7 separate regions of the Homo sapiens genome follow, and regions 1, 2, 3, 4, 5 and 6 are each linked to region 7. Evidence: promoter capture Hi-C in 16 types of primary human blood cells and fetal thymus (Javierre and others, 2016). All regions are on one chromosome and are shown on one strand. Each heading gives the region's core, a stretch centred on a gene start or on the middle of the fragment in contact. The rest is flanking DNA. Distances are from core to core; before and after follow the strand shown.

Evidence for each region. Contacts are between HindIII fragments. The CHiCAGO score rates a contact against its expected background, and 5 or more counts as called.
Region 1: a contact is called between a fragment that was not itself captured here and the fragment with the promoter of CMIP in region 7, in 3 of 17 cell types (neutrophils, total B cells and naive B cells). The highest score is 8.5, in neutrophils.
Region 2: a fragment that was not itself captured here is called in contact with the fragment with the promoter of CMIP in region 7 in 1 of 17 cell types (neutrophils); the score reaches 5.5 in neutrophils.
Region 3: a contact is called between a fragment that was not itself captured here and the fragment with the promoter of CMIP in region 7, in 8 of 17 cell types (neutrophils, naive B cells, total B cells and 5 more). The highest score is 18.5, in neutrophils.
Region 4: the fragment with the promoter of ATMIN here is called in contact with the fragment with the promoter of CMIP in region 7 in 2 of 17 cell types (naive CD8 T cells and naive CD4 T cells); the score reaches 9.1 in naive CD8 T cells.
Region 5: a fragment that was not itself captured here is called in contact with the fragment with the promoter of CMIP in region 7 in 1 of 17 cell types (neutrophils); the score reaches 5.5 in neutrophils.
Region 6: a fragment that was not itself captured here is called in contact with the fragment with the promoter of CMIP in region 7 in 1 of 17 cell types (total B cells); the score reaches 7.0 in total B cells.

What each region holds. Positions count from the first base shown.
Region 1 is chr16:81,901,417-81,904,116 of GRCh38, forward strand. All of the region lies in intron 14 of PLCG2 (phospholipase C gamma 2), which reads left to right. Among named protein-coding and RNA genes, the nearest start is that of SDR42E1, 110 kb to the right of the region's middle. The HindIII fragment of the contact is 6,358 bases long and covers 1-2,700 here.
Region 2 is chr16:80,997,211-80,999,910 of GRCh38, forward strand. It overlaps CMC2 (C-X9-C motif containing 2), which reads right to left. Exons shown (of 4, transcript NM_020188.5): 2 at 104-219. The coding sequence starts at 184. Among named protein-coding and RNA genes, the nearest start is that of CMC2, 8.3 kb to the right of the region's middle. RefSeq lists an enhancer at 1,584-2,150. The HindIII fragment of the contact is 2,109 bases long and covers 373-2,481 here.
Region 3 is chr16:81,882,118-81,884,817 of GRCh38, forward strand. It overlaps PLCG2 (phospholipase C gamma 2), which reads left to right. Exons shown (of 33, transcript NM_002661.5): 9 at 1,152-1,224. Among named protein-coding and RNA genes, the nearest start is that of PLCG2, 100 kb to the left of the region's middle. The HindIII fragment of the contact is 5,892 bases long and covers 1-2,700 here.
Region 4 is chr16:81,034,534-81,037,233 of GRCh38, forward strand. It overlaps ATMIN (ATM interactor), which reads left to right and starts at 1,309. Exons shown (of 4, transcript NM_015251.3): 1 at 1,309-1,673. The coding sequence starts at 1,338. It overlaps CENPN-AS1 (CENPN antisense RNA 1), which reads right to left. Exons shown (of 4, transcript XR_007065134.1): 1 at 2,204-2,700; 2 at 222-393. RefSeq lists silencers at 1,129-1,418, 1,629-1,978. The HindIII fragment of the contact is 2,725 bases long and covers 1-2,559 here.
Region 5 is chr16:81,017,620-81,020,319 of GRCh38, forward strand. CENPN (centromere protein N) reads left to right here. Exons shown (of 11, transcript NM_001100624.3): 5 at 139-215; 6 at 2,481-2,657. It overlaps CENPN-AS1 (CENPN antisense RNA 1), which reads right to left. Exons shown (of 4, transcript XR_007065134.1): 4 at 2,673-2,700. Among named protein-coding and RNA genes, the nearest start is that of CENPN, 12 kb to the left of the region's middle. The HindIII fragment of the contact is 3,405 bases long and covers 1-2,700 here.
Region 6 is chr16:81,953,059-81,955,758 of GRCh38, forward strand. The region is part of intron 31 of PLCG2 (phospholipase C gamma 2); the gene reads left to right. Among named protein-coding and RNA genes, the nearest start is that of SDR42E1, 57 kb to the right of the region's middle. The HindIII fragment of the contact is 1,832 bases long and covers 519-2,350 here.
Region 7 is chr16:81,443,400-81,446,099 of GRCh38, forward strand. CMIP (c-Maf inducing protein) reads left to right here and starts at 1,409. Exons shown (of 21, transcript NM_198390.3): 1 at 1,409-2,142. The coding sequence starts at 1,843. RefSeq lists an enhancer at 250-782 and silencers at 992-1,091, 1,202-1,551, 1,622-1,671, 2,102-2,401. The HindIII fragment of the contact is 9,361 bases long and covers 1-2,700 here.

The DNA of each region.
Region 1 (2,700 bases), core at 98-2,597, 460 kb after region 7:
CGAGGGAGAATGTTCTGTGAGTTTTGAGCTCTAGCCCACAAGGTGACTCAGGGACCCGGGGCCCCCGCATTCTGCTCTAGCATCTCTCAGGGCAGCAGTTTTCAACTGGGGTTTCACAGACCCCCGAAGAATCCACGGTTAGAATCAGAGGGGCACGTGAACTTCAACAGAAAAAAAATTACATCTTTATTTGTTTAACCTGTACATAAAACTTAATACTTCCTTCCATTGTGAACATTGGCAGCAAGCCACTTGCGGGCTCTGTCACCAGCAGAAGTCATGAGTGTTTTCATATCCCGTTTACAGTTATTGCAAATATTTCAAAATAATGTTGTGCTCGTCATCACTTTGGAATTATGGAGGTTATTAGGTCTGCCTCTAGATCTTATTTAAGATGTTAATGAAGAAACCCATCTTTTAGTGTATTGCAAATATTTATTTAATATCTTAATCATGTTTCAATATAATTGAGTTTCCTTTGTAATTTTATGCATTATTATTCTGAGAAAAGGGTCTGTAGCTTTCCCCAGATTTTGAAGGAGCTCATTACACAAAAACGGTGAAGGGACTTTGCTTTGTCCTTGTTTATGTGGTGGACGCTTGGTCTCAGGCACATCCGAGTTCCAGCTCAGAGCACGGGAAGTCCAAGGGTGTCCAGGGCAAATGGTTTCTGGTAAGCAAGTCAGCTGTCCCGTCCTTTTCTCTACTGTTCTGTGCATGAGAGCTTAGTCACGTTACCTGCAAGGACTGTGGAATCTGAAGTCCCTAGCGGGGCAGCCTTTCATGGAAGGAGCGAGTGTGAATTTTGTTGACATTCCACGAGCTCATGGGGAAGGACAAACAGCTGTTTCCTAGGTATTTCAGTCTGTTCCTGCAGCTATCACAAAATACCCTAAGCTGGGTGGGTTATAAACAACAGGAACTGATTTCTCACGGTTCTGGAGGCTGGAAGTTCAAGGTCAGGGTGCTGGTATGAGAGTCCTCTTCCAAGTTGTAGGCTGCCGACTTCTAGTTGTGTCCTCACATGGTGGAAAGGGTGAGGCAGCTCTCTGGGACCTCTTTTATTTTTAAATATTTATTTATTTATAAATAACCATCTGGGACATGGAGATATCTTTGGCCTCTTTTATAAGGGCACCATTCCCATTGTTGAGAGCTCTACCCTCATTCCCATTCACTGGAGCTCTACTCTCATTCCCACTTATGAGAGCTCTACCCTCATTCCCATTCATAAAAGCTCTACCCTCATTCCCGTTCATGAGGACTCTACCCTCATGACCTAATCACCTTCTGTGTTACCCATTCTCACACTGCTCATAAAGACATACCCAAGACTGGGTAATTTATAAAGGAAAGAGGTTTAATGGACTCACAGTTCCATATGGCTGGGGAGGCCTCACAATCATGTCAGAAGGCAAAGGAGGAGCAAAGTCACATCTTACATGGTGGCAGGCAAGAGAGCTTGTTCAGGGAAACTCCCATTTATAAAACCAGATCTCATGAGATGTGTTCACTATCACAAGAACAGCACGTGAAAGGCCCGCCCCCATGATTCAATTACCTCCCACTGGGTTCCTCCTATGACACGTGGGAATTATAGGAGCTGCAATTCAAGGTGAGATTTGGGTGGGGACACAGCCAAACCATATTACCTTCCAAAGCTACCATCTCCAAATACCATTACATTGGGGATTAGGTTTCAACATATAAATTTTGGGAGGACACAGACATTCAGACCATAGCAGTAGGCAGAGAAGGGGGATGTCCTTCCAGGTTGGGACAATAGGACACACAAGGGTGTGGTGGTGTCAACACGTGGCATGTACCCTATATTATCACTGGGCCACCAAGATACATTGGACACAATCCTTATGTTCCAGGAAGTCGTGGTTTGGTAGGGAGACAAACCCGTCAACAGAGAAACACCAAACAGTGCAAGGAGCTTTGGCCAAGCACAACCAGAGGAGGGGATGTTGGTGCCCCCATGGGTAAGAGCATCAGTGCACGGGGAGTGTTTGGCCAAGACTGTGACCCTTAAGGTACAGATGTTTGCCTAAGCGGGAGATCAGCTGTCATTGTCTTAGTCTTGCAGATGAGAAGTGTGAGGCCTGGAGAAGTGCAGCCACCTGGCTGGGGTCACAAGTTAACAAAATAGCTGCAGCACTGTTTGCACCCAGGCAGTTGTTTCGGAGATGCCAAGGGATGCTTCCAGCACGGTGAAGGCAGGATAAGGGGTGGAGGGAGCTCGGCCATGGAGGGTCCATGGCTTCTCAGGCACCTAGTTGGTGAGTCTTCGGGGCAGCCTGGTTGCATGTGCTCTTCCCTGTTCCCAGCTCATTCCTTCTGTTTCCATTAGGATGGCTTGCTGCCTGTTCCCAGGGAGTTTTCAGCTCTTGTTCTAAGATGCAAAGTACTGAAGGCCCCTTTTAGAGCACCCTCTGCCCCACACCTGATACGCTGTGGCCCACTTCTTTCTATTTCAAGAAATGAGGTGGAAATAGCGTTGGCCACACGGTCACTTTGTACCATGCACTTGGCTAGGCGTGGTCATATGTATCTTCTTATTCAGTCTTGTCAAGACACTGCAGGACGAATAACCTCAGCCCTTGCCCACTTTACAGATGTGGACATTGAGATTCAGAGGTTAAATAGCTCAGCCAGGGTCACACATTTAGTATTTGCTGAGGAAATTATTCAAGG
Region 2 (2,700 bases), core at 177-2,676, 450 kb before region 7:
TAAGACATTATCGTTTCCTTCTATCAACGGAGATAACATTTTACATCAGTGGGTTATAACTAAGTTTCATTTTGGCTGTACAGTCGTTTTTCTGAACTCTTACATTTTTGTGACATTCCTTAAGCAAGTTAATCAAGACGTTGCATTCTTCAGTGTGCAAGTGTGGAGATAAGTCAGGATGCATCTTTAGGAGATGAGGATGGATCACAGCAGTGCAACCTGTGGATACAAGAGTGTCTTGAATATGCATAAACACATTTGTTACGCCACCTAAAAGTATCTTCATAAGAACCTCTAGTGACCTTTATCAGAGAAGTATGTTAACCATTAACCAGCTGTGTGACCTCAGGCAAATTATTAAACTTGAGACAAAGCTTTCTAATTCAATGATTTAAGATATTCAGCAAGTTATCAGTAGTATTTAGAGAACCTACAGGTTCAGGAGAAAAGCAGGAAGCCTCAAGAGACCCAATCCCGGAAATAAGCACTAAAGCAGAAACAGCTTGCTTATATTAATAAGCCTGACTTCAAATATTTTCGCCACATTCTCGAAATTAACAACTCATTTTGTTCAGATGAAATTCTACCAATTAAGAGAATTGGCTTATTATTTTAAAATGTATATTATTCTGAGGGTTAAAGGGTCATTAGTCTCATATTAGTGTGAATATAGATTGCTTTTTTCTTAATAGCTGGCTGAAAAAAAAACTAAACAATGAAATGAAACCAGAAGTTGTGAAAAAAAATTTCAAATTTAACAGATATAGCCATAAAACTAATTATTACACTGAAAACATGAAGCTGAAATCCCTGAACTTAAGTTTAATTGGATCATCCACAAGGTGGAAAATTAGCAGCCAAGGTCAAAGGAAAAACATCATGGGCAGCTGTTCTTTTTTTTTTTTTTTTTTTGTAGTCAGGGGTCTTGCTATGTTGCCCAGGCTGGTTTCAAACTCCTGTCCTCAAGTGATCCTCAGCCTCCCAAAGTGTTGGGACAGGCATGAGCTACCGTGCCCCACCTGGGCTTAACCTACTCTAACTCAGAAATGATTACCAAAAGAAAGAACCGATTACCTGCTTTAATTTTTTTTAAAGTTCCAAATAGAAAACAGGAACCAACCCATATCCATTAGGATGGCTACTGCTGAAAAAAAAACAGAAAATAACAAACGCTAAAGAGGATGTGGAGAAACTGAAACTCCTGCGCACTGTGGGCGGGCATGTAAACTGGGATAGCCACTGTGGAAACTGGTATAGCAGTTCCTCAAAAAATTAAAAATGAAATTACCATATGATCCAACAATTCCACTTCCGGCTATATTTTCATAAGAATTAAATGCAGGGTTTTGAAGAGATATTTGAACACCCATGTTCACGGCATATTATTCACAATAATTAAAACATGGAAGCAACCCAAGAGTCCAACAGACAATGGATCAGCACAATGTGGTATATACATACAATGGAATACTATTCAGCCTTAAAATGGAAGGAAATTCTGGCATATGCTACAACATGGATGAAATGTGAGGACATTCTGAATGAAATAAGCCAGTCAAAAAACATATATATAGGGTTCAACATACGCAAATCAATAAATGTGATTCTCCACACAAACAGAATTAAACACAAAAACCATGTGATTATCTCAATAGATGCGAAAAAGCCTTTGATAAAATCCAACATCCCTTCATGATAAAAACCCTCAACAAACTAGGCACTGAAGAACATACCTCAAAATAAGAGCCATCTATGACAAACTCACAGCCAACATCATACTGAACAGGCAAAAGATGGAAGCATTTCCCTTGAGGACCGGAACAAGGGAACAGGATGCCCGCTCTCACCACTCCTATTCAACACAGTACTTATTTCCTAGCCAAAGCAATCAGTCAAGAGAAATAAAAGGCATCCGAATAAGAAAAGAAGTCAAACTGTCTCTCTTCACTGACGATATGATTCTATACCCAGAAAACCCTAAAGACTCTGCCAAATGACTTGAGTAGTTTCAGGATACAAGATCAACATAGAAAAATCAGTAGCACGTCTATACACTATAAGGTTCAACCTGAAAGCCAAATCAAGAATACAATCCCATTTTCAATTGCCACCAAAAAAATAAAATACCCAGGAATACATCCAACCAAGGAGGTAAAAGATCTCTACAGGAAGAACTACAAAACACTGCTGAAAGAAATCACAGATGACACAAACAAATAGAAAAACATTCCGTGCTCATGGATTGGGAGAATCAATATCACTGAAATGGCCATATTGCCCAAAGCAATCTACATATTCAACACTACTCCTATCAAACTACCAATGGCATTTTTTCACACAATTAGAAAAAACTATCCAAAAATTCATATGGAACCAAAAAGGGGCTCAAATAGCCAAAAGAATCCTAAGCAAAAAGAACAAAAACCAAACGTATCACATTACCCTACTTCAGACTATAAGGCTACAATAACCAAATCAGCAAGCTTCTCCTACAAAAACACACACATGGACCAATGGAACATAACAGCCCAGAAATAAAGCCACACACTTTTGATCTTTGACAAAGTCAACAAAAATAAGCAATGGCAAAAGGACTTCCCATTCAATAAATGGTGCTGGGATAGTTGGCTAGCTATATGCAGAAGAATAAAAGTGGACCCCTACCTTTCATCATATACAAAAATTAACTCTAGATAGATT
Region 3 (2,700 bases), core at 140-2,639, 440 kb after region 7:
AGACCTCTTTTCCCCAGGCTCCTGCAAGTGCTCAGGGAAACATACCCATTACCCTGGGAAGCCCCGTGTAGCAGAATGTACTCCCCATCCAACCCGGGGGTGGCTCGTGCTGGCCCAGTGAGGCCCTGTTTTTCTGGTGGCCTGCTGGCCAAGGCGGGAGTCCTGCCTTTATTCGGAGTGTAGTGTTCCCTAGTGTTCCCTACCTGATACCTAACCTCTGCTTGGTCCAGGGAAGTGTCTTTCACACTGCAGTTAATTTTGCCCTGATGGCCTGGAGTCTGGTGGGGCCTCATGTGGCTCCCACTCCAGAGCACTCAATGACCCAGGGAACTCTGGATCGTGGCTTCTGAGGAGGCCCTTGGGTCTGGCTCCTGTCCTTTCTCCAACACCAGCTCTCCCTCTACGGGCGGGTGGTGTGTCGAGCCCTGTCTGGGTATTGGATAGGCACACTCACATCCCTGTGTTCCCCACACCTTTTGCTCTGCAATCCCTCCCTCTGGCCTGCGTTCCCTCGCTCCTACTCCTCTTTCTTTCCTCCCCTCCCTTCTCTTTTTTCCTCGAGGCCGCTGCTTCTCTGGTTTCCTTGCCAGGTACTCTCTGCACCTCCTTCTTGCTCACCCCACCTCATTCTTGCTCACCCCACCTCATTCTGGCTCACCCCACCTCGTTCTGGCTCATCCCACCTCACTCTCTGGAGCTCAAGTAGGTGCCTTTTCCTCAGGAAAGCCCCTCTGGTCCTCCAGGTCTGGGTTTGGGGCCTTCTCAGCCATTCCCACTCTTCCCCTCCCTTCCCACCCTCATCTCTTGCTACACTGTATCCCATATGCCTGGTTCACCTGTCTTCCCCATGGCCACACTCCTGGAGGGGCTCCTCAGACTCTGGGGTGCACCAGAGCTATTTTGGAGCAGCTAAATGTAGACACCAGGGCCTGCCCCTTGAGATTCCGATGTCAGGGTCCCTCTGAATCCTTGTAGGTGAGGGACATTGTGTCACTCACCTGTGTCTTCCTGTTGGCCAACCTGGTACCTAACACAGTGCCAGACTAAGTGGGGCGTTCTGGGTGGCAGGCTGCCCCATTGGCTGGCATCTCCTCTCGACTCCTCTGTTGAATGTGTCTGTCTCTAACTGCACCCCCTTTCCCCGAGGATAGGAACACTGACAGGCCGGATGCCTCTGCTGTTTACCTGCATGACTTCCAGAGGTTTCTCATACATGAACAGCAGGTGAGAGCACAAGGTGTGTGGGTGCCTGAGGGAGCTGGCGGGATGCTGCTGGGGACTAGTCTCACCCTTCTGCCGCCTGTGCTCACCTGGTCACCTGTGCTCACCTGGCCACCTGTGCTCACCTGGCCACCTGTCTTCATGGAACGATTGCAGTCTGCCAGATGCCAGAGACTTCAGATTGCTGTCTGATGCCACTGAAACTCTGGATGAGAAGAGCCTCATGTCGGGCCTCTTTTGAAGGCACACATTGAGGATGAGAAGACTGAGAAGATGGCAGGGCAGGAGGGGTGAGGGCCTGAGGATGGGGCTGCCCTCACCTGGCTGGGTGCACCTTTTCTGGCCATCATCTCAGGTGTCACTGCCTGGGAAGCCTTCCTTGACTGATGGGAGGATGGGATCAGATTCATCAAGCCTGCCAGGTCCCCTGGGAGATAAACTAGCACAGCTTTCCTTAAACAGGTGATGCCTGGGACAGTCTCCCTGGACAGGGTTTGCCTGTGGGCTCTGAGCCCAGCTATAGACTCAAGGGGGGGTTGTGTTGCGCCTTGGTTTTCCACTGCTGTGACGATGCCCCCAGAGGACACTGGGCAGTGTCCAGAGACGACATGGGTGCGTGTCACAGCGGGAGGCTGCTGCCGGCATCTAGCAGGTCAACACCAGGGATGTTCCTAAATATCCTACATTGCACAGGGCAGCCCCCCCTACCCCCCAGCGAAGAAGTATTCAGGGCCGGGTAGGGTGGCTCACGCCTATAATCCCAGCACTTTGGGAGGCCGAGGCGGGCGGATCACTTGAAGCCAGGAGTTCGAGACCTACCTGGCCAACATGGTGAAACCCCATCTCTACTAAAAATACAAAAATTAGGCAGGCATTGTGGTGGGTGCCTGTAATCCCAGCTACCTGGGAGGCTGAGGCAGGAGAATGGCTTGAACCTGGGAGGTAGAGGTTGCAGTGAGCCGAGATTGCGCCACTGGACTGCAGCCTGGGCAACAGAGCAAGACTCCGTCTCAGAAAACAAAAAACAAAAACACCCCCACCCCACCAAAAAAAAAAAAGTCAAAGAAGTATTCAGCACCAAGTACCTACAGTGCTGAGGACAAGAAACTCTGTGAGAGTGAGATCAACTTGAAATCATCTTACCAGCTGCACAGCCACCGACAGGTGGTTTACCCTTTTTGTGCCCCAGTTTCCCCCTCTTTAAGTGGGATTGAGAGCATCTACCTCTGAGAATTGTGGGGATCAGAGTCAATTGTATGGATCTGTGTGTGTGTGTGTGTGTACATGTATGCATGTCTTTTCACATATAAATCTCAAATTTTTGTTTATATCATTGGAGTTCCATTTACTTTTTTCTTTTACTTCATTTGTTTTTTTTTAAATAGAGTTTATATTTTAGAGTAGTTTTAGGGTTGCAGCAAAAATAAGTTCATTTACTTAAAAAACCTCTTGTCTTGCAGAACATTTCAAACATACACA
Region 4 (2,700 bases), core at 59-2,558, 410 kb before region 7:
TTCCAAGGATTTTAGGAATTGCATGCCAGGACAAAGACCAAATATATACTTCACATTATCACAGTTATCTTGCAAGGCAAAGGGACTTGGCAGTTGGAGAAATTATCCTGGATGATTTGAATGGGCCCAATGTCATCACAGGGGGCCTCAAGAATAGAAGAATCAGAGGGATCACTACTGAAGAAATCAGAGTGATGTGATGTGACGAAGACTCAACTCACCGTTACTGATTCTGGAGATGGAGGAAGGGTCCGCAAGCCAAGGAATGTAGGCAACCTCTAGAAGCTGGGAAAGGCAAGTGAACAGATTCTCCCCTGGAGCCTTGGGAAGGAATACAGCCCTGCTGACACCTTGATCTTAGCCCAGCAGTCTCATTTCTTTTGACCTCCAGAGCTGGAAGATAATAAATTTGTGTTAAGGCAGTAAGTTTGTGGTAATTTATTAATAGCAAGAGAAAACGAATATAGCTGCTAGTATGTAAAAGGTGGAAATTTTCACATAAAACTCTAGCCATACCAAAGATGAGTAGCAGCTGCCCCCTTTTAATAAAGGATGTGTTTCCAATTTCACTGCAGTCCTCACCCCTCCCTTTTGTCTACCCCAGCCTCCTATGTCCATTTACATGAACTACCCAGTCTAAGTATTAAGTTTTGTAATCGTATACTGAACTGCAGTGTCTCCCAAACAGTAATCCTAATTTCAGCAGCTAAAATAGAAGCAAGCAAATCCAGCCTTCTTAAAATGATTAATCCTATCAATAATAACAATCTTTTCATTTGTATAGTGTGGTCTAGGTCAAGTTACTTAATTTATATAAGCCTAAATGTCCTTCTCTGCACAAGGTGGGGCAAGTTACAGTACATACCCGCTACAGTCGTTTTGAAGACAAAATGAGACACAGCATGAAAAGTGCATCCACCAGACCCACCTGGTACCCAGTAAGGCCTAGGTAATAAACAACGGCGGAAATCAGTGTACTTCTGCCTCACCTGCCACTAGACATTTGGGTTGTTTCTAATCTTTGGGAAGTAAACGCATTGCTCAACGTATTGCTTTTTCTTTTATGTGACTACTGCCTGAAGTCACTTTCCTAGGAAGAATGGATCGATTAGAGAGGCGGGGCAATACCTTTTACCTGCTGGCAGGTGAAATTTCGCCTCCTGGCGGCGTCACCTAAAGTCCTCTCCCTCCAAGGCGCGCCCTCCGCGGCCGGCAGGGGGCGCCGCGGCCGCCTGGGCCCGCCGGATGCTAACAAGCCTGGCGGCCTCGCCCCCTGCCGGAAGTGGCTGCGGCGGGGGCGGGGCCTACGAACTGGGCCGGGCGGCCGTGCGGGAGCCATGGCGGCCTCGGAGGCGGCGGCGGCGGCGGGGTCCGCGGCTCTGGCGGCGGGTGCCCGGGCCGTCCCGGCGGCCACGACAGGAGCCGCCGCCGCCGCCTCGGGCCCGTGGGTGCCCCCGGGACCCCGACTGAGGGGCAGCCGGCCGCGGCCCGCGGGGGCGACGCAGCAGCCCGCTGTCCCCGCGCCGCCGGCGGGGGAGCTGATCCAGCCGTCGGTGAGCGAGCTGTCCCGGGCCGTGCGGACCAACATCCTGTGCACCGTGCGCGGCTGCGGCAAGATCCTGCCCAACAGCCCCGCGCTCAACATGCACCTAGTCAAGAGCCACCGCCTGCAGGTGAGCCCGACGCGGCCGGCGGCCCGGGGGGCCGGGCCTGGCTCCAACAAAGCGCCCGGCGCCGGCGCGCGAAGCCGGCCTCGGGGGGACGAGCGCCCTGCGCGCTGCCGCTGCCGCTGCCCCACCGGCCTCTGCCCTCCCCGGCCGGAGGCGGCTCTCGAACCCTCGCGGCAGGCGCCGCAGGTGCGGCCTCTGGGGGGGAGGAGGAGCTGGGAGCCCCGGGTCCGCCGTACGCGCCAGTTCCCTGGTTCCCTGGCTCCCTGGCCCCGAGTGTCGTGCCGGACGCCGGCCCAGGCTTTTTACACTTTTTTGCCTGTGAGTTCTTAACGGCGTTTTGGCGAGGGACGCATCGTCTCCATTATATTAATGAGAAACAGATTATGCAACCTAGATGATGCGGGGCTTTAAACCGGGGCCTCTGGTTCTAAAGCCCTGTGCTTGCCACGACACCCACAATGCCGCCCTTGGGTCCTGCCCAGTGGACTGTATGTGCCACAATAACTAGAAGAGAGGGTTTTAAATGTTCTCACCACCAAGAGACAATACGTTTGAGGTCGAGGACATGTTAAACACTCTGACTTGATCACTATGCAATGTATATGTCCATCCATGCTGCACACCGCACCCCATCAGTAGGAATAATTACTGTGTGTCGATTATGAATAAAAAAATGTTTTAAAGGAGCGGTAGGTTTGCCTCTAAACACCATCAGTCAGTTTCACGGTGTTGGTAAGATCAGCTCAGGACTGAGACCTAAGGGAAATTGCCCCTGTGGCTCTTCTTTAAGAGGGGGACACAGTAAATACACCATGACAATAGTCTCAACAACCCTCCACGTTATGCAAAACAGGGCAGTCATTTTCAACCTTGGGACACATCTGTGACAAGCTTATTAAAAATCCAGATGTCCAGCCCCACCCCGGACCTGTTAAGTCACAATCTCTCAGTCATTACAATGGCAAGTTTCCTTCCACCACTCTAGGCCAGCAGTGACATAATTCAAAAGCGCAAGTCATTGAAAGCAGTT
Region 5 (2,700 bases), core at 139-2,638, 430 kb before region 7:
CTAGCACCATTTGTGTGATTTGATCATTATTACTCTGGAATTATACAAAATGCTTAGTTTCATGGTACTTTACGAATGTATTTACTGAAGACATTGTAGCTCCCTTGATTTTTCTTTATTTTTTTTTCACTTTGGCAGGTGAAGATGTTGACCTTTTTGATATGAAACAATTTAAAAATTCGTTCAAGAAAATTCTTCAGAGAGCATTAAAAAATGTAAGAATAAAATTCATCTTTTACATAAAATTCAATGTCATGACGTCTGTGCACTTAAAATTTGCTACTATCATAGTTTTTTTTTAATTTGTAAGAAATTCAGTTAGTAATAGTTCATACGGTTCTACTCCATATCAGAAACACACTGTAAATATTATGAAAACTTCCCTTTCCTCTCTCCTGTCCATTCAGGGCCTGAGGCTTCTTTTTCCAGAGGAGCTCAGTCCAACAGAGCTTTCTGCAGTGATGGAAATGCTCTGTATTGGCACTGTTCAGTTCAGCCACATGTAGCTGCTGAGCACTTGCGGCTAGTGTGACTGAGCAGCTGAATTTTTAATCTTTTTTTTTTTTTCTTTCCTTGAGACAGAGTCTTACTCTGTTGCCCAGGCTGGAGTGCAGTGGCGAGATCTCGGCTCACTGCAACTGCCTCCTGGGTTCAAGCAATTCTTCTGCCTCTGCCTCCCGAGTAGCTGGGACTACAAGCACGCACCACCATGCCCAGCTAATTTTTGTATTTTTAGTAGTGATGGGGTTTCTCCATGTTGACCAGGCTGGTCTCGAACTCCTAACCTCAGATGATCTGCCTGCCTCGGCCTCCCAAAGTGCTGGGATTACAGGTGTGAGCCACCGCACCCAGCCTGAATTTTTAATCTTTTTAAACTTCAATGATTTTTTACATTAAATAGCCACATGTAGCTAGTAGTTCCAGTAATAGTCAGTGCAAACCTGAAGCACCCTTGATTTTACAGATGTTTTTGCTTTTTTAATGTAAAACAAAGAAGCTATTCAGAATAAGACAATCTTCCATTCAAGGCAGTAGAGGCCCACTGAGCATGTGACTGGGTCCAAGCTCTATGATGCTCACTCAGGAAAGTCAGACAGCTGTGTGCCGCCATACCCTGGACTGGGGAGACTTTCTTGTCTCCTGCACTGAGGGAATTTGGAAAAGCTGCTAAAGAATGAGCAGAATTTGCTAGTGCCACTGTAACAACCCACTTTTCCTAGAACAAGATCTCAGAGGGAGGAAACAGAGACGTGGGCAAGCTGAGTGCATCTCACTCAAGTCCCTCCTTTCTAGGCTCAGAGCTTTAAAGGGAAGCTGAATCAGAGGGGAGCTGATAATCCAGGAGCAGCCTATTAAATTCCAGACCAATTGGCAACCATATTTAAAAGTTTGGAAAGGCCTGTATTTTATCCATGAAGTGGATTCAAGGTAGTACCTCTGGTCTTGCCATGTAACATTCTTTTAGAGGAGTTTTTAGCTTCTGAGCTAAATGCATAAGAGCATTAGGAATAGTATATTTTCAAGCCCATTATTACATAGAAATCTTCTTTAAGCCCATTATGACATAGAAATCTTCTTTTTCTTCTTCTTTTTGTTTTGTTTTTGTTTTTTTTTGGAAACGTGGTCTCACTCTGTTGCCCAGGCTGGAATGCACTGACATGATCTCGGCTCACTATAGTCTAGACCTCCCAGGCTCAAGCCATCCTCCCACCTCAGCCTCTTGAGTAGCTGGGACTATAGGCACATGTCACCGTGCCTGGCTTTTTTTTTTTTTTCCGGTAGATACTGAGTTTCACTATGTTGTCCAGGTTGGTCTCAAAACTCCTGGGCTCAAGCGATCCTCCTACCTCAGCCTCCCAAAGTGCTAGGATTACAGGCATAAGCCACAACACCCAGCCTAATTACATAGAAATCTTACTGTTAAAGTTTATAGCGTGTGCTAGGTCTGGGTTAGATGCTAAGAAGGCTTCATTATAAAACAAGTATCTCATTTGTAAGGCTGCCTTACCTCATAAATTCTTACGTAAGGAGGAACAGTTTTCAGGACAAGCCCAAGAAATTATTGAAAAAACAATCACCTCTACAAAAAAAAACTTTTTTAAAAAAATTAGCCAGGCATGATGGCACGTGCCTGTGGTCTCAGCTACTAGGGAGGCTGAGATGGGATTGCTTGAGCCCAGGAAGTTGAGGCTGCCGTGAGCAGGCTATGATCATGCCACAGCACTCCAGCCTGAGCAACTGAGCAAGACCTAGTCTCAAAAAAAAAAAAAGAACTGAAAAGGATTTTTTTTTTTTAAAATCACAAAATGTTTTCCCAAAGATTCTCAAAATACTCATGAAAAGCAGAAAAGACTGCCAGGTCTCAACCTGCATACAAGAGTATAGGGACATCATTGTTCACCCCTAATAAGCACCTGGAGTTGGTGCCACAGTGAAATTTTAATTAGGAAATTAAGCCTTTTTTTTTTTTCTTTAATAAGGTGACAGTCAGCTTCAGAGAAACTGAGGAGAATGCAGTCTGGATTCGAATTGCCTGGGGAACACAGTACACAAAGCCAAACCAGTACAAACCTACCTACGTGGTGTACTACTCCCAGACTCCGTACGCCTTCACGTCCTCCTCCATGCTGAGGCGCAATACACCGCTTCTGGGTCAGGTATGGAAAAAATTATTACAAGCTATAATATTTTATTATCCTA
Region 6 (2,700 bases), core at 185-2,684, 510 kb after region 7:
TCGCCTCAAACAAATTATAAGAAGACACCAGACAAAAGTTGCTGGACATTCATACAAAATAACTGACTAGTATTCTTCCAAAGTGTCCTGAGGGAGGAATGAGGAAACCATACAGATTGTAGGAGACTAAGGCAGCACAATGACTAAAGGTTCTGTGGGATCCCGGATTGGATGTGGGAACAGGAAAAGGAGACTGGTGGAAAACCCAGTGAAATATGAATAAGATCTGTAGTTTTAGTATTGCACCGATATTAATTTCTTAGTTTTGATACTTGTACTGTGGTTGTGCGAGATGTTAACACTGTGGAGTCTAGGTGGTTGGGGTATGTGAGAACATTGTACTATTACTGTACCTTTTTTGTAAGCTTAAGCTTCCAACATAAAACAATTTAAAAGGTATTGGTGGGGGAAAAACTTTATTTTTTTGTGTATTTTTCCCCCCAACAAACAGGAGAAAAACTAAAGGCAGAGAGTGCCATAAAGATTTTGTCTCAGGCCAGGTAAAACTTATTACCAAAAGCTTCATTTTCTAATAAAACAAACTAAATTTTTAAGTGAAAACTCAGACTCAAAAGAAATCCAGGAAATAAGTATCACAAAATGCTTTCTCTTGACTAGAGTGGTGGTTCCTCAAGTCAAGAGGGCTGGTTCATTTGCTGTAGAGTTATTCACTAAACTGTTTCTATCTTTTACGTTCTTTTCTGAATGTGCATTATATCTCATATATATACAGTGTACCCAGGACTACAGTATGTAATATAGCTGCAAATATTTTGGCACTCAGGAAAGGTGATAAAGGGTTGCAGTTATAGAAGCATTCATAGAAAAGGTGAATTTTGAACTTGCGCCCGAATAACAAATACCCATTATATAGAATAAAACAACAGAAGCCATTTTCTTCTAGGTGCAGAAAAGGGAAAGAGAGACCTTTCATGGTATAGTATTAAGACTTAAATGGGGTTTTCATTTTGCTTTATTTTTTGAGACAGGGTCTCATTGTCTTGCCCAGGCTGGAGTACAGTGGCATGATCGTGGCTCACTGCAGCCTTAACCTCCTGGGCTCATGTGATCTTACCCTCTCAGCCTCCTGAATAGCTGGGAGTACAGGGTATGCCACCATGCCTGGCTAATTTCTTTCATTTTTTATAGTAACAGGGTCCCGCTATGTTGCCCAGGCTGGTCTTGAACTCCTGGTCAAGCAATCCTCCCACCTCAGCCTCCCAAAGTGCTGGGGATTACATGCCTGAGGCACTGCGCCCGGCGACTTGATTCTTTTCTTTTCTTTTTCCTTTTCTCTGAACTTTATTCTGTAAAATTTTACTTTAAGTTCCAGGATACAAGTGCAGGACGTGTAGGTTTGTTACATAGGTATACGTGTGCCATGGTGGTTTGCTGTACTCGTCAACCTGTCATCTAGGTTTTAAGTCCCACATGCATTCCCCATCCGCCAACTAGCCATGGTGTGTGTTGTTGCCCTCCCTGTGTCCTCATTGTTCAACTCCCACTTATGAGTGAGAACATATGGTATTTGGTTTTCCATTCCTGTGTTAGTTTGCTGGCTGAGGATGATGGCTTCCAGCTTCATCCATGTCCCTGCAAAGGACATTACTTCATTCATTTTTGTGGCTGCATAGTATTCCATGGTGTATATGTACCACATTTTCTTTATCTAGTCTATCACTGATGGGCATTTGGGTTGGTTCCATGTCTTTGCTGTTGTACATGGTGCTGCAGTAAACTTACATGTGCGTGGGTCTTTATAGTAGAATGATTTATATTCCTTTGGGTACATACCCAGTAATGGGATTGCTGGGTCAAATGGTATTGCTGGTTCTAGATCCTTGAGGAACCACCATACTGTCTTCCACAATGGTTGAACTAATTTTCATTCCCACCGACAGTGTAAAAGTGTTCCTATTTCTCCACAGCCTCGCCAGCATCTATTGTTTCCTGACTTTTTAATATGCTTTATTCTTAATAGGGAGGAAAGTCATTACTAAGTGAAGTCATTACTGACTCTTCCCAATGCCTCACTTGATACATTCACTTAATCACCAAGGACAGCCCATTTTACCTCTGCTTACTCTTCAACCTTTGCAAACAGCTGGAATAATCATCTTCTGTCCCCCTTCTCCAAAGTCACAGTTCCAGCTGTTACCCTGGGGACTGTTTTGTTAGGTCATTAAAGGAGGAAAAAACCTTGCAGAGTATGGTCTGAGTCCGTGTTTTTCTAAAAGTAAATGACAAAGGATCTTGTTTGTGCACCTCAACAGATGTTTTTGTAGCACAGGAGTCTTTCACTTGAACTCCATCGGGAAAGGCCAATTGACTTGACCCTCCTGCAAAGCCAAGCTTCACAGAGTAGTCAGGGATCCTCTGAAACAGATGAGGCAAAACATCCTCATCCTCCCCCTGCATTGAAACCCAAACTCCCTACCCTGAGTGGCTTTTGTCTTTTTTTCTCCCCTAGCGTAATGGACTATTTTGGTTCCTGCAACTGAAAAGTTTAGGGGTAGGTCTTGTTTCAGTCATGGCTGAATCTCTGTGCTCACTCAGTGGCTGTTTTCCTCTTTTTCTGGCACATTCCAAACTTCTTGACTCAATAGCAACGTGGCCATGACAGGACCACACTTACTCTTTCAGCTGATCCCAAGAAAAGAAACTCTACCAAGAGCACCAACGAAAGTCCCACGGATGCGT
Region 7 (2,700 bases), core at 159-2,658:
TGTGGGGAGCTAAGGAATTTCTAACTTTCTAATCTAATTGTGCCTCCCCAAGGAGGCATCTCCTGGGCAGGCTGGATGTGAGTCTTCTTTCCTTGGTGAGGGATGCAGCCTGGGACCTGCCTTTCATCCCCTGCCTGAAACCCTGGCCAGGCTCGGGGAGAGGGTCCTCTGGGGAGCACCTTCATGCTGCCTGTTCTTGGGAGAGGGGGGGTGAATAATTTCCACCAACGGCACAGATGCTGTGGATATTCCGCAGTGTTCACGACGCAGTTCAACACACGCTGCACACATTCATGTGTTCACTACAGAGGCGCCTTCACTTAAAAAGGCAAAAATCTAGGGTTTTAACGTTATTAGCTGCAGGAGCACGTGGAGATAAGAAAACCTGGCTGAGGAGCTGAGCATTTGCTAGGTGGCCTTAGGTGCCGGCTGCTTGTGATGGCAGAAAGGGAGCTTTTTGCATCCAGGCTGCAGTTCCTGATACCCTGGGTCACAAGAGAATCGAATATGGTTCTCTCGTGGGCTGGTGCTGGGCCTGTGAACTCAGATAAAATGACCAGGTGGGGTCCCAGGGAAGGTGAAGTAGGGGGAGCTGCTGGGGTGCGCACAAGAGGGGTGGCTGTGTAGGTTGGGGGGTGCTTTAAGTGGGTTCCTAGAAGAGGCTCTGTCTCCCTGGGCAGAAGAAAGAAGGGGGATGGGCGGACCGTCCCCTCTCTCCAGAAGGTTTGAGGACCCCCAAGGCCAAAGCCAGCAGACGTCAAAGGCCAGGAGTTCGAGGCCGGCTGGGTCCCGCAGTGGGAGACAGGGCAGGGTGGGCTCATCCTCCGGATCACCGCGGGGACACTTTCAGTCGGGAAGGCGTCCCCGTCCCACGGCCCCATCTGGCCAGCCCGCTGGACAGCCTGGACAGCGGAGGGGGCGTCAGGGGTCGAGGGTTCCAGTCCCCGTCCTTCCACCCAGCCCCCGGCCCTCGGGTATCCTTCTTTACCCGTCCGAGTCCGGCCCGGGGGCGGCGGGGGTGGGTGAGGCGCGGGCCCCCAGGCTCCGGCAGCCTGGCTGGGCTCCCGCCCGGGCACCCGCGGGGGCGCGGCTGGCGTGACGTCACGCGCCCCGCCCCCGCGCCCCGCCCCCTCCCCACATTCCAGGCGGGGCGGGCCGGGACCCCGCGGGGCTCGCCCGCCCCAGCCCCCTCCCCAGGGGCTGCCCCTCCCGTCGGGCCGCGCCTCCCCGTCGTGGGCCGCGACCCCGCCCGGACCGCGGACTCCGCCCGCGAGAGGCCGAAGCCGCCGCGGCCGCCGCCGTTGCCGCCATTGACGTCAGAGGGGCGGGCACATGACCCTGCGGGGACCAATCGCGCGGGCGCCCCGGGCTCCGGGAGCCCGGCGCGCGGCCCGCCCCGCCCGCGGCCACTCTCGCCCGGACGGCCGCGCGGACACACGCTCTGTACACACGCGCGCGGCGGCGCGGGGCCCCGAGACACGCCCGCCCCCACCCCGCCGCCCCCACCCCGGCGCCCGCCCTCCGCGCCTGGCCCCGGCCCGCCCTCGGCCTCCCCCGCCCCTCCCCGTCGCCCGCCGAGCCCGGTCAGCCGCCGCGAGCATGCACCCGACGAGCTAGGAGGAAGCCCGGAGCCCCGCAGGAAGCGCCGAGGCCGGCCCAGCCCGCCGCACGCGCCGCCCCCCGCGGGCAGCGCCCCCTCCCCTGCGGGCGCCCCCAGCCCCACACCCCCCCACCTTCCCGGGGGGTGGGGGGGTGCGGGCCGCCGGATCCGGGGGCCCCGCCGCCCCAGCAGCCCAGGACAGCCCCCTCTCCCCGCCCCCAGCCCCCTCCCCCGGCGCGGCCATGGATGTGACCAGCAGCTCGGGCGGCGGCGGCGACCCCCGGCAGATCGAGGAGACCAAGCCGCTGCTGGGGGGCGACGTGTCGGCCCCCGAAGGCACGAAGATGGGCGCCGTGCCCTGCCGCCGGGCTCTTCTGCTTTGCAACGGGATGAGGTACAAACTGCTGCAGGAGGGCGACATTCAGGTCTGTGTCATCCGGCACCCGCGGACCTTTCTCAGCAAGATCCTCACCTCGAAATTCCTGAGGCGCTGGGAGCCGCACCACCTAACGCTGGCCGACAACAGCCTGGCGTCCGCCACGGTGAGTGGCTCTGCGCGGCTGCACCCCCGCCTCTCCTCGGGGCCCGAGATGCGCCCTCCCTGGCTGCCCCCTGGCGCTGCACCTGGAGCCCAGGGCCTGGGGGGCGGTGGGGGGTGCCGGGGGAACGGGGAGAACCAGGGCGCCTCGCTCCTGGCCTGCTCGCGGGGCTCGATTTTGGAGTCTGAAGCCCAAACCAGCCGACCGGGCTCAGGAGAGACCCTTAAAATGCTGGAGACTCGGCCCACCGCCAGGCTGGGTGCCTGGGGACCTTCTGCCCCCAGCTCTTGTGTTTCTGGTGGCTGGGACTCGAGGATGGACCCGACGCTGGGCCCTGATGGTGGTGGGGGTTCTCTCTGGAAGCCCCTGGCCCATCTGGATCTGAGGGGTGGGGGAGGGGAAAACAAAATACCACCCCTCAGATTTAAAAAAAAAAACAAACAACACAACAAAACCTCCAAACCCCCAAACCCAAAGAATTTCCAGAAGCCAGTTTCTCTGTTTGGTTTACCCGTCCTTTATTCTCTTTCCTGCCAGGGCTGGCAGGCAGAACGGGGTGCT